4 separate regions of the Homo sapiens genome follow, and regions 2, 3 and 4 are each linked to region 1. Evidence: promoter capture Hi-C in 16 types of primary human blood cells and fetal thymus (Javierre and others, 2016). All regions are on one chromosome and are shown on one strand. Each heading gives the region's core, a stretch centred on a gene start or on the middle of the fragment in contact. The rest is flanking DNA. Distances are from core to core; before and after follow the strand shown. Region 1 holds the start of GNS (glucosamine (N-acetyl)-6-sulfatase). Region 2 overlaps LOC105369803 (a long non-coding RNA gene). Region 3 overlaps LOC105369803 (a long non-coding RNA gene). Region 4 overlaps RASSF3-DT (RASSF3 divergent transcript).

The links. The method cuts DNA at HindIII sites, captures the fragments that hold promoters and counts their contacts. A CHiCAGO score of 5 or more calls a contact.
Region 2: a contact is called between a fragment that was not itself captured here and the fragment with the promoter of GNS in region 1, in 5 of 17 cell types (neutrophils, naive CD8 T cells, total CD8 T cells and 2 more). The highest score is 9.6, in neutrophils.
Region 3: a contact is called between a fragment that was not itself captured here and the fragment with the promoter of GNS in region 1, in 3 of 17 cell types (total CD4 T cells, non-activated CD4 T cells and neutrophils). The highest score is 6.6, in total CD4 T cells.
Region 4: a contact is called between a fragment that was not itself captured here and the fragment with the promoter of GNS in region 1, in 1 of 17 cell types (neutrophils). The highest score is 6.5, in neutrophils.

What each region holds. Positions count from the first base shown.
Region 1 is chr12:64,757,877-64,761,099 of GRCh38, reverse strand. It overlaps GNS (glucosamine (N-acetyl)-6-sulfatase), which reads left to right and starts at 1,694. Exons shown (of 14, transcript NM_002076.4): 1 at 1,694-2,015. The coding sequence starts at 1,824. It overlaps LOC124903113 (small nucleolar RNA U13), which reads left to right and starts at 127; the gene lies at 127-232. It also overlaps a transcript of TBC1D30 not described here. RefSeq lists an enhancer at 2,268-3,148. The HindIII fragment of the contact is 13,978 bases long and covers 83-3,223 here.
Region 2 is chr12:64,506,565-64,509,787 of GRCh38, reverse strand. LOC105369803 (a long non-coding RNA gene) reads left to right here. Exons shown (of 4, transcript NR_188079.1): 4 at 2,313-3,223. It also overlaps a transcript of RASSF3 not described here. Among named protein-coding and RNA genes, the nearest start is that of TBK1, 56 kb to the right of the region's middle. The HindIII fragment of the contact is 2,742 bases long and covers 79-2,820 here.
Region 3 is chr12:64,524,908-64,528,130 of GRCh38, reverse strand. All of the region lies in intron 3 of LOC105369803 (a long non-coding RNA gene), which reads left to right. It also overlaps a transcript of RASSF3 not described here. Among named protein-coding and RNA genes, the nearest start is that of TBK1, 74 kb to the right of the region's middle. The HindIII fragment of the contact is 4,446 bases long and covers 1-3,223 here.
Region 4 is chr12:64,597,075-64,600,297 of GRCh38, reverse strand. It overlaps RASSF3-DT (RASSF3 divergent transcript), which reads left to right. Exons shown (of 2, transcript NR_187549.1): 2 at 1,082-1,220. It also overlaps a transcript of RASSF3 not described here. Among named protein-coding and RNA genes, the nearest start is that of RASSF3-DT, 11 kb to the left of the region's middle. The HindIII fragment of the contact is 5,723 bases long and covers 1-3,223 here.

The DNA.
Region 1 (3,223 bases), core at 445-2,944:
TCTGGTTGTCTAGGAACTGCTCTGACCACACTTCCGGCATAATTGTTTCTTGCAGAAAAACTACTTCAGTTTTTTTAAAGCTTCTTTTGCCTTCTGTAGGCTTACTTAAAAAAAAAAAGTATTAAGATCCTTTTGTGGTTCATAAGCCTGATGATTGGGTTTTCATGCTATTGTGTGAGTTACCACCCCTACCTCAAACCTTGTTAGGACTCCGCGCATTACCCCTCTGTGTGAAAAAAACAAAGTAATAAAGGTAATTTTTTTTTTTTTGCATAAGCCCTATCCTTGTACACATCAGGTTTCAACGTGTTTCCATCATTATTTTTACCTTATAGTATAGTGTTTTCACGAGTTTTTTTTTTTAATACTTTAAGTTCTGGAATAGTTTTCACGAGTTTTAAGAGACTCTTCTTGGCAAACAGTTCAACTCAGAGAAAATACTTTTACCAGCAAGGAGGTATACCTTGTTATATCGGTCTGGGGATGTGACTTGACAGTTCACCTTGCCAGGAATATCTCTGTGATTTTTTGTTTGTTTGTTTGTTTTGAGACAAGAGTCTCGCTCTGTCCCTGAGGCCAGAGTGCAGTGGCTCACTGCAAGCTCCGCCTCCCGGGTTCAAGCGATTCTCATGCCTCAGCCTCCCGAGTAGCTGGGATTACAGGCGCCTGCCACCACGCCCAGCTAATTTTTGTATTTTAGTAGAGACGGGGTTTCCCCACGTTGGCCAGGCTGGTCTAAAACTCCTGACCTCAGGTGATCCACCCGCCTCCCAAAGTGCTGGGATTACAAGCGTGAGCCACCGCGCCCACGGTGGGCGGTGAGAGGAGAGGGGCAAAGTCTAATTATTCCAGAGCGACCACAGAAATATCTGGAGCTAGTTTCAAGGGCTATTCCCCGCTAAAGATTACTTAATAATGCAGTTGGATGACCACGTTTCAAGATTTTTGTTCGATCTGCACATCCTCCAACATGTTCCAAGAGGGTGTTTAAAAAGTCACCAAGGACCATTAGGATAACCATTAGGATAAAGCTGTCAGGACATCCCTAAATTGTTTGAAACTACGATGTCTGCTGAGGAAAGAAGAACATAATTAGGCTTTGGAGTTAAGAGAGCTAACCAGTTCCGAATTTAATGTCTGAGCCAAATGAGAATGTTAAGATTTATCTCACAAGTTGTAGAGAAAATTAAAAACGATTAAACATCCGGGCCTTGAATAAGTGCCCGTCGACTTGGGGATTAAATATGGTAGAGTCCACTTTCCTCACCAGCTGATGATAATTTCTGTTATGTACAGTCCTCCTTTCTCTTCCTTTATCGGTTGGTTAGTATTTGCCAACTCTTTCCTGCTTTTCATCTTCTCTTCCCCCCATTTAAATCTTTCCACCAAGCGCTCAGAAACACGTACGTCCTACCAGAACGCAACCCGAGCCTGCGCGAGAGGTACGTACAGGTCTTGACCTTTTCCCGGTTCTCCGCCCTTTTCCCGGTTCTCCGCCCTTTTCTCCGGTTCTCCGCCCTTTTCTCCGGTTCTCCGCCCTTTTCTCCGGTTCTCCGCCCCTTTTCCGCCACTGCCTGATGCCTCCCTCCAGGCTGCGCCAGTCCGCAGCCCCGCCCACGCCGGCCGTCACGTGACCGCGCAGCGTGCTCCGCCCCCTGTCCCTGGCTCACGTGATCGCGCCTAGGGAGAAAACGTCTGACTCCAGCCACCGGCCTTCAAGGCACGGCTTTTTATTCCTTCGGCTGGTCGGCCTCTCGCCCTTCAGCTACCTGTGCGTCCCTCCGTCCCGTCCCGTCCCGGGGTCACCCCGGAGCCTGTCCGCTATGCGGCTCCTGCCTCTAGCCCCAGGTCGGCTCCGGCGGGGCAGCCCCCGCCACCTGCCCTCCTGCAGCCCAGCGCTGCTACTGCTGGTGCTGGGCGGCTGCCTGGGGGTCTTCGGGGTGGCTGCGGGAACCCGGAGGCCCAACGTGGTGCTGCTCCTCACGGACGACCAGGACGAAGTGCTCGGCGGCATGGTAACTCTTCTGTTTCTGCCCCGCCCCTCTATCTCTTGGGCTGACTACCCGGTTTGTTGCTCTCTTTCCCGGTCCCCACCACCCTCCTCCCCGAACTGGCTGTCTTATCCTTGGGTAGGTTTGGTTTTCCCACCTGAGGCCCTTTATGCCGGTGTAAGGGACTGCAATACTCTTTTCCTTTCTGGATTGAGGCACATGCGTACAGCACACAGAGCTTCTAGTCTGGACCGTACTGCTGTGGAGTTTACGTTAATATCTCAAGATAAACATGTGGAGACCAGTGGAGGATGGGTTGAACCAATGAGGATCAGGTGCTGTCTAAGAGCACTCAAGGCCTGATTGTTTTTCTTTTGGATTAGAGGATCACAGACAAGTCCAGTCCCCTTTATGAGGGACCTAGACCACCTCCACGTTTGTGCCTGTATACAATGTCTGTATCTGATGTCAATAAAAATAAGCCTGGGCCGGGCGCGGTGTGTCACTCATGTAATCCCAGCACTTTGGGAGGCCGAGGCGGGCGGATCAGAAGGTCAAGAGATCGAGACCATCCTGGCCAACATGGTGAAACCCCGTCTCTACTAGAAATACAATAATTCTAGCTGGGCGTGGTGGCGCGCAGCTGTAGTCCCAGCTACTTGGGAGGCTGAGGAAGGAGAATCGCTTGAACCCGGGAGGCAGCAGTTGCAGTGAGCCGAGATCGCGCCACTGCATTCCAGCCTGGCGACAGAGCGAGACTCCGTCTCCAAAAAAAAAAAAAAAAAAAAAAAAAAAAAAAGGCCTGAAGTGAACTAATCTGGTAGGCCGACCGTCGAACTATTGAGGGTGTGTGTTGCCTCACAAGAATCAAGAAAATTCAATTAGTGTGATTGAACACCTGACTGTTGCATTAGAGACTGTCAGTGTTTCATTTTCTATCTAATGGGTGTTGTCACAAGACTTCATTTTTTTTCCAGAGTAAATTTTGCTTGTGTATTGCAGAATTATGGAATGTGTGACCTTTGGAAACATCCACTCCAACCCCTTCCCCATGGAGGCCCAGAAAGCAACTTGCCCAAGACATGAGTAGTTGAGGCAGAGTCCTCTGACCCTGGGTTCAGCATTCCTCTCTTCGCTTTAAAACCAAATGCTTTATTGCTTTCTTCGTTTCAGTTCTCTTTTTGCTTTCAGCTGAATGCTGAGACTATGAAATACTCCAGGCAAGACGTTCC
Region 2 (3,223 bases), core at 200-2,699, 250 kb after region 1:
TCATAATATTGTGTATAAGTAAAAAGATTGTTGGAATCAGGCTATCAATCTCCAAACTAATGAGAAAACTAATAAGCTTTACTTTGGAAAAACAGATAATCAAACTTTCTAGGTATAGATTATCTACTGATGAAGGCTATAAGTAAAATATTCAGTGAGGGCTCGTATGTTCACATTCTGTTACTTACTCACCATTGCTCTGTGGTGTGATAAAAAGAGCAGCAGACCAAGAATTAGATAATCTGGGATAAAGCTCTGGTTCTGCCTATGTAATAGTTTTGGGAGGTTAAGGTATCTAACCTTCTGGAGGCAGTTTGCTCATCTTATTTTTATTTTTTGAGGCTGAGTCTTGCTCTGTCGCCCAGGCTGGGGTGCAGTGGTTCCATCTTAGCTCACTGCAACCTCCACCTCCTGGGCTCAAGCGATTCTTCTGGCTCAGCCTCCCAAGTAGCTGGGATTATAGGCACCCACCACCACACCCGGCTAATTTTTGTATTTTTAGTAGAGACAGGGATTCGCCATGTTGGCCAGGCTGGTCTCAAACTCCTGACCTCAAGTGATCCACCCACCTTGGCCTCCCAAAGTGCTGGGATTACAAGCATGAGCCACCGCCCCTGGCCTTTTTGCTTATCTTTAAAATGAAGCAATTGGTGAAGATGATTTTTCTTAAGTTCTTTTGGGGCTCTAACTTCCCAAATTATGTTAATCCATATCTGAAGAATGGTACATATAAACAGAGACTTAAACGATTAAGTTAAATTCTCCCTATTTTGACAGTGAGAATGAAAAAAAATTAAAGAAAAAATGGAAGATTGAAATGTCCTAGGCCTTATATTTTATAAATTTCTTTTTTTTTTAAATGAATTGCATGGTTTTGTTTTTGTTTTTGTTTTTGTTTTTTGAGACGGAGTTTCACTCTTGTTGCCTAGGCTGGAGTGCAATCGCACAATCTCGGCTCACCGCAACCTCCACCTCCTGGGTTTTCGAGCAATTCTCCTGCTTCTGCCTCCCGAGTAGCTGGGATTACAGGCATGTGCTACCACACCCAGCTAATTTTGTATTTTTAGTAGAGACAGGGTTTCTCCATGTTGGTCAGGCTGGTCTTGAACTCCCGACCTCAGGTGATCTGCCCGCCTCGGCCTCCCAAAGTGCTGGGATTACAGGCATGAGCCGCCGCGCCCGGTCTGCATGCTTTTAAATAAATGTCTTAATCATATACCTGCCTTGGTGATTATAGATCATAGTCACTTCTGTTTTTTGTTTTTTTTTTGAGACGAAGTTTAGCTCTTGTTGCCCAGGCTGGAGTACGGTGGCATGATCTTGGCTCACTGCAACCTTCGCCTCCCAGGTTCAAGTGATTCTCTTGCCTCAGTCTCCTGAGTAGCTGGGATTACAGGCACCAGCCACCATGCCCGGCTAATTTTTTTGTATTTTTAGTACAGACAGGTTTTCACCATGTTGGCCAGGCTGGTCTCGAACTCCTCACCTCAGGTAATGCATCTGCCTCGGCCTCCCAAAGTGCTGAGATTACAGGTGTGAGCCACGGTGCCCAGTCGTCACTTGTTTTTAAAGGAGGATCTGGCACTGGATAATCTAGCACATCATCAGATTATGTTTGATAATGTATCAAACACATAATACATCTTAAGTAATTGTTAAGCACTTACATAAAATTCTGAGCTACATGGGTGTGAAAGAAACATAATGAGAATTTTGATTCAGTTGCAAGATGAAACATTATGAAGTGAGAGAATTGGCTTACAGTAGTGTGAGTAGTACAACCAGTGCTGCAGAGTATGAAGGTGAAAGCTGGGCTCCTGCAGGAACTTCAGATACCAGACTTGGAGGGGTCATCTACTCCCTTTAACCCCCTCTCCTCTGACCCTTGCATATTCCAGTCAGGCAGGACTGGACAGAAAAGGCAGGGCTTTATATGGTAGCAAATATAAGGTGCTTTAAATTCTCACATCAATAAATACCTAAAATATGATGCATAAACTGACCCAAATAAAAGAGATTTAAGGCCCACTGACCTTTTTAGTTTTCTATGGAAAGGAGGGGAACTCACTGTGACTTATTTTTTGTGTTCTGTTTATTCTAAGATGTTTTAGTACTAAGACAAGTTAAGAGTCCCTGAGAATAAGAGCTGTTTTTGTTGTTTTTAAATACTAAACATTCTCCATCTCTCTTTAGTCAACTTTTCGGAATCAAAATGCCTAAAAAGCATACAATTGGATTGTAACAATGTTCATGGCTTCTAATACATCAGCCTCAAAATGCTTAATTTTATTTTCTCTCAATTTTCCCTCCAGATGACCAAGTGGAATACCTTTTAAAGGCTTCAAGACTTTTCTTTCCCACTCCTCCCTGCCCATGCGAGGGAGGCTCCATTTTAAAATGTAACACACACACACAAAAAAACGGATTTGAAATAAGGCATTAGCCTGAGGTAACTTACCCCCACCTTGGCTCCAGAGCAGCTTGGATTTCCGATTCTTTGAGCAGGTCAGTGATTTGGGGAACCAGTAAAAGAGCCGGGCTATTCTTCTGAAGGTCTCATGAAAGTCACTTCTTATGGCCATAGCGAGAACCAGGAGTGTTCCAGAATGACTCGCTACAGAGAGCATGGATGAGGAGCACAGTAACACCCACATATGACACTTTAGCTGTGAACTGCCTTTCAGCCAATATGTCTGGGGACCACCTGTTAGCCCTAAATCCCCTTCCTCTGTCATTCTTTTGGCTTGTCCTTTAGACCTTGGCCCTCATAACTAGAAACTGTATTAATAGATGTTCTTTCTAAAGAAAGAGTTTTAAGCTTTCTTAAGAGAAGCTCTAACCTAATGCAACACTTGGTAATTTTCAAGCATGGACCTCCTGACCTCGTTCATAAAAACACAATTTTTTCATAGAGGAGTGAAAAAAAACAGGATCCACTAACTCAACTTCCAACAGAATTGTCAGTGGTAATTTGCAGGACTTAGTGGTGATGGACAAGCAATCTCCTAAAGCCATAGCCTTGATCCCATTTGTTTTGTGCATTTTTACTGGAAAAATGAAACCTATTTGAAACTTTAGCAGGAATTTATCCCAGAAAAAAAAAAATTAGTTCTTATGAGTCAAAAAATGTGTAAAAGGGCCAGGCACAGGGGCTCACACCTGTAATCCCAGCACTTTGGGAGGCTGAGGTGGGAGGATTGCTTGAGCCCAGGAGTTCAAGACC
Region 3 (3,223 bases), core at 232-2,731, 230 kb after region 1:
CCACTAATTTTTTTTAACATTTTGTGTGTGTGTGTTTAGAGACAAGATCTCACTATGCTGCCTAGAGTGGTCTCAAACTCCTGGATGCGAGTGGTTCTCCTGCCTTGGCCTCCCAATTTGCTGGGATTACAGGCGTGAGCCACCACACCTGGCCTGTATCAATTTTTTAAAATTTAAATTTATTTATTTATTTTTTGAGACAGAGTGTCGCTTTGTCACCCAGGCTGGAGTGCAGTGGCTTGATCTCAGCTCATTGTAACCTCTGCCTCCCAGGTTCAAGCAATACTTGTGCCTCAGCCTCCCAAGTAGCTGGGATTACAGCCATGTGCCACCATGCTCAGCTAATATTTGTATTTTTAGCATAGATGGGATTTCACCATGTTGGCCAGGCTGGTCTCAAACTCCTGGCTTCAAGTGATCTGCCCACCTTGGCCTCCCAAAATGCTGGGATTACAGGCATGAGCCACCACACCCAGTTGCTGGTATCAATTTTAATGTTTTAAAAATGTAATCGTATATCAAATAATTCCCCAGGCATCACTTTTTAGGATGATGCTAAAAAAGGGGGTAAGGTACTTAGTAAAAATACTAGTAGGGAGTTATGCATGTATGGCAAAAATTGTGAAGATAGCCTGTGAATGACATTTGGGAAACACTGGATTGGGCAGGAAATGAGAGCTATCATTTATTGTGCACTTACTGTGTGCCATATTAGTGTACTTTATATGCATTAATTTATTTAATTCTTAAAACATCCCCAAGGAATAGGTACTGTCGTTATCTTCTGTTTTTTATGGAAGAGGACACTGGGGTACTGAAGGGTTAAGCTGCTTTCTTACAGTCATCTGCCAACACATGGCAGGACCAGGTTCTAACCTCAAGCCCTGTTCTTAGTCCGGTTCTCTGCTGGAGACCTTGATTGATTGTGAAGGACTCACTGGGACTCAATGATAGGATTCTGCAATTCAGCAGTTCTCAGAGGAGGACAGCATGAGCTTCAGCTGGGTAACTTGTTAAACTGCAGGTTCACTGAATCCCCACGTTCATTGCACCACCATTCACAGTAGCCAAGATAATCAACTTAGCTGTCCATGGACAGATGAATTAATCAAGAACATGTGGTATATGTACATGGTGGAACACTATTCAGCCTTTTAAAAAAAGGATTCTGCCATTTGTGATTGTGTAGATAAATGTGGAGAAGTTCAGTGCAATAAGCCAGGCACAGAAAGACAATTACCACATGTTCTCACTTCTATGTGGAATTTAACAAAGTTGAACTCAGGGCCAGGTGCAGTGGCTCACGCCTGTAATCCTAGCACTTTGGGAGGCTAAGGCAAGAGGATCACTTGAGGCCAGGAGTTCAAGACCAGCCTGTGCAACATAGTGAGACTCTGTCTCTACGAAAAGTTTTAAAAAGTTATCCAAGCAACGTGGCATGTGCCTATAGTCCCAGTTACTCAGTAGGCTGAGGTGGGAGAATTGCTTGAGCCCAGGAGTTTGAGGCTGCAGTGAGCTATGATCACACCACTACACTACAGCTTGGGCGACAAAGCAAGACCCTGTCTTTAAAAAATTTAAAAAAAAAACAACTCATTTTTTAAAAAGTTTTGTACTCACAGAGGTAGAAAGTAGAATAGTGGTTACCAAAGGCTGGGGGTTGGGAGGGGTTAGGGGAGATATTGGTCAAAGGACACAAAATTTCACCTAGACAGAAGGAATAAGTTTGAGAGCTCTATTGTACAACATAGTGACTATAGTTAGTAACAATGTATCCTATACTTGAAAATTGCCAAGTAGATTTTAAGTGTTCTCACCACAAAAAAATAAGTATATGAGACAATGCATATATTAATGAGGTTGATTTAACCATTCCGCAATAAGTACATATTTCAAAACATCATGCTGTATACCATAAATACATATGTATATAAGTTTTATCTGTCAATTAAAAATAAGAAGTAAATAAAAATGTAGATACATAGTCCCTTCTCCAGAAATCCTGGCCCTTACATTGTCCGAGTGTGGGAAAGCAGTATGAATAATCACCCCAGATAGTTCTGAGGTGGGTGGACCTGCAGTCTCATAGTGAGAAATGAAGGCAATTCTAGGAATCGTTAGAATAATGAGTTCTATTTGGGAGATGAGCTCACTACAGACATCTCTCCCTGTTCACCTGGCTTGTCACTCCCACTTGAGACTCTTTGCAGCCTTTGGGACGGAGGTAACGTGCTGATGATGTGCCTCTTTCAATACTGTCTTTCACACGCATCACAGTAGCAGCGAGGAATCAAATGGCCTTTATTCTCGTCTATTCTGACAGTAGATCTATATGCTTCTGATCACACTACAGTAATATAAGAAACTCCAAAGCAGAGAGCAAAAAAAAAAGTAGACTTTGAAAATGAAATGTTGAAGCAAACAAATTCTGGGTCTGCAGGAATTTCGCCCACGCTCACCACTGCCACCTGCCAGCCCATTTTCCCATTCCGCAGCCAAGGCTCATTATGATCTTAAGTAGGCCAATGAGATGGAACTGAAAAAGGCTGAAAATGAAGTGGGAGAATGCGTATGACTGTTCATATGAGACAATGAGGAGAAGAGCTGCCTGACCCAGGCATGGCTTTGCCAGTCAGGCCTGCTAAAAGGAGATGGGGGGAAAACAAAAGGAAAAATAAGTGAGGATGCTTTCATAGCATCTAAAAAGAAGGAAGCAGTCTTCTAGTTATAGTCCCCCTCAGACCCACAATCTTGAAACCAGATTTTAAGACATACACAAATATCTGCAATTCAGAGTAGAAAATGGCAATGAGCATCACAAAAGTAGTTCAAATATTTTCTTTTTTTATTTTTCTTGACACGGAGTCTCACTCTATCGCCCAGATGGAGTACAATGGTGCAATCTTGGCTCACTGCAACCGCGGCTTTCCAGGTTCAAGTGATTCTCCTGCCTCAGCCTCCCGAGTAGCTGGGGTGACAGGCACACGCCACCACGCCTGGCTAATTTTTGTATTTGTAGTAGAGATGGGGTTTCACCATGTTGGCTATGCTGGTCTCAAACTCCTGACCTCGGGTGATCCACCTGCCTCGGCCTCCCAAAGTGCTGGGAGTACAGGTGTGAGCCACTGTGTCCGGCCACTACAAATATTTTCAAAGAGCTGTAGAGCAAGTTTGATGAGCAAATGAAAGAAAATATTTTCACAACTCTAAGACCTGATGCCTA
Region 4 (3,223 bases), core at 496-2,995, 160 kb after region 1:
TGTGTGTTTTGAGATGGATTTCCCATGCTGCCCAGCCTGGTCTGGAACTCCTGGATGTAAGCAATCCTGCCTCTACCTCCAAAGGTGCTGGGATTACAGATGCATGCCACTGTGCCTGGCTAGTTGTTTGTTTGTTTTTTTAACTTCTGAGATATTTTTTCTAGAAAAGACCCCTCAGATAAGGAAAAAAGATTAATTCATTGAACATTTTTTGACCTCTTACTGTGTATCAGGCACTATTCTTTTTTTTTTTTTTTTTTTTTTGAGATGGAGTCTCTCTCTCTCTCGCCCAGGCTGGGGTGCAGTGGCGCGATCTTGGCTCACCGCAAGCTCCGCCTCCTGGGTTCACGCCATTCTCCTTCCTCAGCCTCCCGAGGAGCTGGGACTACAGGCGCCCGCCACCACGCCCGGCTAATTTTTTGTATTTTTAGTAGAGACGGGGTTTCACCGTGTTAGCCAGGATGGTCTCGATCTCCTGACCTCGTGATTCACCCGCCTCAGCCTCCCAAAGTGCTGGGATTACAGGCGTGAGCCACCGCGCCCGGCTTATCAGGCAGTATTTTGAGCGCTCCTAAACTCATTTAATCCTCCTAACACTTCTCATCTTCCCCTGGAAGCGTGGCATAGACTTTACAACGGCAAGCGGCAAGGCAGCCCGAGCTCCCACGTTCACCCTCCTGATCACTACACTACACAGCCTTCGGGCTCAGCCAACCTAGGGTGAGAGGAGTGTCAGACAACTTCAGAGGAAACCACAAGGGTTTCCAGCCACAAATGATTTGCAGTGAATTGATTTGAAATATGTTATTAGAGAGTGTCTTTGTGTGACAGAGATTGTATTCGAGGTTTTTAAATGAGAGAAAAGATTATTTTTATTCAATTGTCTGGGACATTGAACTTTCCAACATTGATTTTGATCAGTCCTTGCAATTAATTTGTGCTCCCTACCCCCACGCTTCTGCTAAGGGCTTTTAGCCATCTATCCCTTAGTTTGAATACAGGTAGGGAGATCCTGAACTTTTTTTGCCATGAGGCATTGACCATGATTATGACCCATCCATAGTGATATTATGTCTTACAGGGGCTTCTAGAAGCAGAGCTGAGGCTGGGAGATTAATGCTGTCCTCAAAGTGAAGAGTCACCACTACTTGTCAAGTCATGTCATCTCTGCAGCCACGTGCATTTTGTAAACTGGGAAGAATAAACAGACATTTCTGACATTTTTGCTTGAGATTTAACCTCAGCGCGTCAAGAGATAGAGAGGGGAACAGAAATAAATAAAATGTGGCTAAATAAGGACTGTTTATCACAAACACAAGGCAGAGATCTGGTGACCATATCTGACTTTGAAATCTGTGTCTCCAGGAAGAGGAACATCACACACCAGGGCCTGATGTGGGGTGGGGGGAGGGGGGAGGGATAGCATTAGGAGATATACCTAATGTAAATGACGAGTTAATGGTTGCAGCACACCAACGTGGTACACGTATACATATGTAACAAACCTGCACGTTGTGCACATGTACCCTAGAACTTAAAGTATAATTTAAAAAAAAAAAAGAAATCTGTGTCTCATGACAACAGCTTTAGGAAAATAGAAATGCTTTTTTGTTCAAGAAAGGCATTCCAGGGAGAAATTGAGCCTTCTTAATAAATACAAGTAAGAGACCTAACAGTGCCCTCAGAATTTCTGTGGAGGCCTTAGTGGTAGCCTAAGCTGGGCTGCATAAATTGTCCATATCAAAGGAAAATTGCTGATGGATATAATTCAGCAATTGTTCTCCCTTGTTCCCTGCTGTGCTATATCCATGCCATAGCTATAGCTACATCCACTCTTTCACTACCTTAAGTACTGAGATCTTATTATATGCATAGCACCATGGAAACTGGGTAAGACATAAAAGAAGAGTTAGATAGATTTCTGGCCTTCAAAACCTTATAAACTAGTTAACGAAAAAAATATTCCCCATAGAACAATTATGTAATGATAACAGACTGTGATTACCCAATCAATAAACCTGTGAAGAATGTGTCAAAATATAAGCCAAAGTCAGAAGAATGTGATAAGATTTGGTCAAGGGCCGGGCAAGGTGGCTCACGCCTGTAATCCCAGCACTTTGAGAGGCCAAAGTGGGCAAGTCACTTGAGGTCAGGAGTTCTAGGTCAGCTTGGCCAACATGGTGAAACCCCATCTCTACTAAAAATACAAAAAAATTAGCTGGGCATGGTGGCTTGTGCCTGTAATCCCAGCTACTCGGGAGGTGTGGAAGGAGAATTGCTTGAACCCGGGAGGCAGAGGTTGCAGTAAACTGAGATTGCACCACTGCACTCCAGCCTGGGTGACAGAGTGAGACTCTGTCTCAAAACAAAATAAATAAAAGATTTGGTCAGGAAGCCTTCAAAGGAGGTGGGATTTAGTTTGATTCTTAAAGGAGAAGGATACGTAAGAGGAATAGAATAGGAAGTTCAGGGAGAAGACAGGTCACTAGCAAAAACTTAAGCACAATCTATTTGCCTGCTAAATCAAACACTTAAAATAGGCTAGGTGTGGTTGGCGCATGCCTGTAATCCCGGCACTTTGGGAGGCTAAGGTGGGTGGATCACCTGAGGTCAGGAGTTCGAGACCAGCCTGGGCAACATGGTGAAACCCCATCTCTACTAAAAATACAAAAATTAGCCAGGCGTGGTGGTGCACGACTGTAAATCCCAGCCACTAGGAAGGCTGAGGCAGGAGAATCACTTGAACCTGGGAGGGAAAGGTTGCAGTGAGCTGAGATTGTGACACTGCACTCCAGCCTGGGCAATAGAGCGAGACTCTGTCTCAAAATAAAAATAAAAATAAAATAAATAAAATAAAAAATAAAATAGGCCGGGTGCCATGGCTCATGCCTGTAATCCCAACATTTTGGGAGGGTGAGGCAGGTGGATCACGAGGTCAGGAAATTGAGACCAGCCTGGCCAACATGGTGAAACTCTGTCTCTACTAAAAATACAAAAATTAGCTGGGTACGGTGGTGCATGCCTGCAATCCCAGCTACTCGAGGGGCTGAGGAAGGAGAACTGCTTGAACCCAGGAGGTGGAGGTTGCAGTGAGCGAAGATCGAGCCACTGCACTCCAGTCTGGGCAACAGAGCAAGGCTCCATCTCAGGAAAAAAATTAAAAAATAAAATAAAATGGAGAAAAATTGACCAGATATGTGAAGGCCAACGTGTTAAAAAAAAA